2 separate regions of the Homo sapiens genome follow, and region 1 is linked to region 2. Evidence: promoter capture Hi-C in human tissues and cell types (Jung and others, 2019). All regions are on one chromosome and are shown on one strand. The core of a region is centred on a gene start or on the middle of the fragment in contact, and the rest is flanking DNA. Distances in the headings are between cores, read along the strand shown. Region 1 overlaps NET1 (neuroepithelial cell transforming 1). Region 2 holds the start of CALML5 (calmodulin like 5).

Region 1 (2,700 bases), core at 69-2,568, 51 kb after region 2:
AACTTTGAATATAAACTAACTGCAAAAGAAACCTTCGCGATATGTAATAAGATGGCACACGCTGTGCTTCTGAGGACATGTGTGGATGCCTCCCCCACGTACATCTGTGCTGACTGACTGACACACGCGTGTGCAGGGGCCAGCACAGGCATTCCTTTCCATTTAGTAAAGACAGCACAAAGAGTCTCCTGTTGGACTGAAGATAGAATTACCTCACAGAGTAAGAAATGCCGACATTTCACTGGAACAAAGCAGTTGTCAGAAAGTTCTGTTCCGCTTTTTGGGAACAGAGGTTAACTCCTCTTCCTTGTTTCATGCATAACAAATTTGACTTCCCAGAAAATATAATATTTAATTTCAACTTAAAAGGTCTTTGGAAAGGTGCTTTTCCCAGTGAATATGAAAGGAAAATTTTGTTAGCAGGAAATAAATTTTTGATATCTATTTTATCACATAAAATCAAATTAATGATAAAAATTTATTATCTTTATAGGACCAGTTACTGTACAACTACTAACTTCCTGGTAACTCAAAATTATGTGATATTTTAAAACTACAGAATTTAGATTTAGATAAGTGAATGTAAATATATCTAAAGCATACTTCTGAAACGAACACGGGTTTTGTTGATGTGGTCTCTTTAGGGTGGCAGCATATTATGCCAAGTGGTATTTGGTGGTTAAATATGTTCCACAGTCCTTTAAAAATCCAACTATAATCCCACTTCTCCACAAAGGAAATGCTGCTTTTCAGAGTTTATCAAATCTAGGATGTCTTGGGAAGTATGATGCTTACTCAGGAAATACAGGTTGGGAGAGGGAGAGAAAGGAGGAGGGCACTTTGCACTTTTTCACATGCTTTTGGGGATGATGGTGGATAACTTTCCTGCCTCACTCAAAGGACATACATGAAGAATGTTTGGCAAATACAAAACAAACTTTTAGTATATATATTTTAAAAGTATGAACAATTTTAATGACTAAAATAACGAAAAGTGTGATTATGAAATGTAAAGGTATAATGCTGCTACTAATTTCAGGATACATATACTATTTGAAAACAGACTCATACATGAAACTTCTGTGGAAAAGTGACATGGTTTAGGCATTCACAGGCCACCTAAAAGATTGGGACAAAAATTTGTGTCTTTCGGAATACACGTCAGAAATTGGCCCATGTGAGCCGAAACCAAAAGTAGTTTTCTTTAGAGGTCCACATGAACTATCTTAATAATCTTGATTTGACTATTAAGAACCTAAATATTTGCAGTCACAAAACAGATTCCTAATACAATATTTAGATAGGCCAGACACAGCATTTGGAGGTGATGAAGGGGGAGTGGAACAGGCGCTTTCTATCTCACCACCACCAAATGGAAGGCACCCATAGTTCCACTGCTAGGATTGTTTATTTTTTACTTTGGAGTCCTGGAAACACGTTATGGCAAATTCAAGAAGCTTAAAGAACAGATACGAATACTGGAACCTTACTCTCCTCAAAAAAAAAAAAAAAAATCCAAAAATCCATGGGAATAAACAAAAAAATGCCAACAAGCTTTACATGCTCAATGAATTTTCTGCTGCAGGGAACCTTTCACCAGGGCTAAAGTTCACTTGGAGGGAAAAAAAGTCCAACACTCTCTAACATAAGTTTATGTTGTCAATTTAGGTTAATTTTTAATCAGACTAGGTTAGCCAGGCAGTCACATACATTATTATAGGCAATCTGTCCACAGATCAGGGTATTAATTAATGTTAGTAATCCACTTGTAGTTAGATTTTATGCCTTAAAAATTTCTCGACATCTATAAACAGAAAATTGTTGAGAATAAGTTAAAGTATTTTTCAGGTTATGCCTTACAGCTAACTGCAACGACATGGAAAAATCCTGTTGAGAAGTCAGCATTCTGTAGAAAGGCTTTTTCTTCTAATGATGCCAGTTAGAGAACATATTTTAGGAGGGTCTCTTCTATAACCAATCATATCAAGACACTGAATAAAAAAAATAGTATGCACCTGGGTCTATTCCTTTGGGTTATAATAGTTAAATAATCTTCTCTTAAAATCTTTAGCAAAACTTTAAAATCAAAAGAAAATAAAAGTTATTTTTAAAAAGATAAAAACGAGTTATGATCACATGGGATGAATTCCTTTTCTAGAAATACTCAAATTATTTAGAGCTGTGTCACTAGATCTAAAACCGTGACAACATTCCTAGTGCTTGTAACTTAGAAATAAAGGTAAGGCAGAAACACAGCCCATGCTGATACTAAACAAAGGCCAGCTTCTATGGGCCCAACAGATGATAAGCTGCAGGATTCACACTAGTGACTGTGGATGACTGCTCTACTCAAAGGAAATACTTACACATTTTGAGAAAACCGACACATAGGCAAAGACCAAAACCAAGAACAAAAACCAAAGCCAAACCACACCAAATAAAAGTGTACTTCCTGAAGACGGCAGCTATTTTAACTACCAAAAGGTGTGTGTATGTGTACACATGACAAGCAACTTTGCTGGGGTATTCAGTAAGCTTTACATATTTAAAATGCACAATTAGATAAGTTTTGACGTGTGTATAGAGACGGAAACCACTACCACAATCAAGAGATACACAGTTAACTGAATGCAGGAACACTATTCCTAGCATATAAGTGACAATGTAGTATATATTAAAGTATATAGTATAAACAGAATA
Region 2 (2,700 bases), core at 57-2,556:
TGGTCTATTTGATGGGCTGAACAGGAGGGAGGTGGAATGTATAAACTTTCCCAGGGGAATAAAGGAGTTTGTTCCCTGTGTACGGGCAGGGGCTGGGGAGAAGAATGGGAATCTATGGAGATCAGAGGGGACTTGCTTGGGAAAGGCATTTTGGGGACTCCAAGGCAAATGTCCCCTCACAACTGTAGATCACATCAGTGGAAGGACTTGGGGATGGTCCCCCGAAAGCTTAGCTGTTGCTCTAAAAGTTGGTCAAGGCAAGTGGCCCTGGGGGTTTCCTTCCAGAGAACAGATCAGATTGAGGACCCCAGTAGGCTCCCAGATGGGTCTCTGTGCTTAGGGCTGATGCTTAGTAAAACCACAAGGAGGGCCAAGTTTGATGGCAGCCACCTGTTCTGCATCCTCCTGCACCTCTGCCTGCACCTTTGGGGTATGCTGGGCACTGAGGTCCCCCGTGTCTCGCTGCAGCAAAACTCCAGCTGTAACTGTTTGACGCCCTGTGAATGGAACGCCTGCCACTGAGCTCCCAGGGTGTCTGCACAGGGAACCTTGGACTTGGCGATGGAATTGAATTGTAGGAATCCCTGAGCTAGAAGGGAGTATTCTGGGGAGACAAAAAGTCTTTCCCTCTCCTCTGAAACTGCACGTCACATGTTCACTTGATAAACACCATCTCAGCACCAGCTATGGCTCTGAAGGCAGCCCTGGTCCCTTGCTTCCTTGAAGTTATAGGCAGTGAGCCCCATCCTCTGTCTCTAGACCCTGGCCTGGGAATCTCATGATACCCACAGTTGTGCCCTGGCAGAATCAACACTACCACCCACTTCCCTTCCACCAGCCCCAGCCTCAGGGCAAGAGCTAGGCAGTAGCACTGGAGAGAGGGGTACGGAAACACCAAACACTGGGGCCTGCTGTGCCCTTGAGGGAGCCCTCTTCAAGCCACCTCCCCCTCCAGTCTCAGTCTTTGTGAAGTTGCAGAAGCTGTCTTGAACCCCTTGGCTTGGTCAGGATCTCCGAGAATCAGCTGCAGGGGAAACTATCCCTTGGGCAGAATGTTCCTGGAGGGAGGTGGTTGCTATCAAGGCCAGGCGGGGTTGGCAGGCTAGCCATCCGATACCCCGACCCCATGGCAGTTCCCACCTGGCACCTGACAGCTCTCCCAACTCCCATTCCTGCATTTCCTGTCTGCAGCTGATCTGGCCCTCCCTGGGAGGAGGCTCTCACCCCAGGGCATTTGGAGGGTGGGGAGCCTCCCTCCTCCCTTTGTTCCGATTGCAGAAAAGGAGGGGGTTCCCATGCCAAGGCAGAACTGTCTGGGACAGACGCTGCCCGGATCCCTGCGGCTGCCTGCACTCTGGACCACGAGCTCTGAGAGCAGCAGGTTGAGGGCCGGTGGGCAGCAGCTCGGAGGCTCCGCGAGGTGCAGGAGACGCAGGCATGGCCGGTGAGCTGACTCCTGAGGAGGAGGCCCAGTACAAAAAGGCTTTCTCCGCGGTTGACACGGATGGAAACGGCACCATCAATGCCCAGGAGCTGGGCGCGGCGCTGAAGGCCACGGGCAAGAACCTCTCGGAGGCCCAGCTAAGGAAACTCATCTCCGAGGTTGACAGCGACGGCGACGGCGAAATCAGCTTCCAGGAGTTCCTGACGGCGGCGAAGAAGGCCAGGGCCGGCCTGGAGGACCTGCAGGTCGCCTTCCGCGCCTTCGACCAGGATGGCGACGGCCACATCACCGTGGACGAGCTCAGGCGGGCCATGGCGGGGCTGGGGCAGCCGCTGCCGCAGGAGGAGCTGGACGCCATGATCCGCGAGGCCGACGTGGACCAGGACGGGCGGGTGAACTACGAGGAGTTCGCGAGGATGCTCGCCCAGGAGTGAGGCTCCCCGCCTGTGTCCCCCTGGCTGCGCTCTGAGCCTTCAGGGCCACCGCCCGCTGCTGCTTTTGTGCTGGGACTCTCCGGGGAAACCTGGTCGGTGGATGGGAAACTGCCTCCCCCTGGGAGGAAGGCTTTGCGCTCCGGGGCCTGGATGCGGCGCCCTCGGGCCGCCTGCGAGCCCCTCTCTGCCTCCAGACCTTGGGCAGAAGGAGGCCTCCTTGGGCCTGGTCCCCCTTTGCCCTGCAGTGGAATGAGGGCCCCTCAGCCCCGCATTGATCTAAATAAAGGACTGCCGAGTTCCATGTGTGCTTGGTGTTTGTGGGGCGGCTGCCTCCGAGGGCCCCCACCTGCTTCCAGGGTTCCTTCCAGCCCACCCCTCTCACCTGCGGTGGCAGAACTGCCTGGAGCAGGCCCCAGGGGCAGCTCCTGCCTCCCCTGACGCGGAGCAGAGGGCAGGTGGGCAGAGGATGTGTGAGGATGGTGCTGGGCGGTGTCTGTGGCTCCAGGTTCTGCCTGAGCTGCTGGTGAGGACCTGGGCACGTGTCCCGCACAAACAGGAGCGGGCGCCTCGCATGGACAGACGGAGCCCAGCTGCCAGCCTCTGCACGCAGCCTGCCTCTCTTCGGCTGCAAATAATATACGTGTACGTCTGTGTGTGCATCTGTGTGTGTGTCTGTGTGTCTGTATGCGTGTCTCTGTATGTGTGCATCTGTGTGTAAGTCTCTGTATGTTTGTGTGTCTGTGTGTCCTTGTGTGCATCTGCATGTGTATGTGTGTATCTGTGTGTGTGTCTGAGTGTGTCTCTGTGTCTATGTGTCTGTGT

What was found. The method cuts DNA at HindIII sites, captures the fragments that hold promoters and counts their contacts. A contact is called where the count stands out against the background at its distance.
Region 1: a fragment that was not itself captured here is called in contact with the fragment with the promoter of CALML5 in region 2 in 9 of the 25 tissues and cell types used here (H1 embryonic stem cells, IMR-90 fibroblasts, bladder and 6 more).

Annotation. Positions count from the first base shown.
Region 1 is chr10:5,447,487-5,450,186 of GRCh38, reverse strand. The region is part of intron 3 of NET1 (neuroepithelial cell transforming 1); the gene reads right to left. Among named protein-coding and RNA genes, the nearest start is that of NET1, 36 kb to the right of the region's middle. The HindIII fragment of the contact is 5,840 bases long and covers 1-2,700 here.
Region 2 is chr10:5,498,176-5,500,875 of GRCh38, reverse strand. CALML5 (calmodulin like 5) reads left to right here and starts at 1,306. Exons shown (of 1, transcript NM_017422.5): 1 at 1,306-2,179. The coding sequence starts at 1,438. The coding sequence ends at 1,878. The HindIII fragment of the contact is 7,245 bases long and covers 1-2,700 here.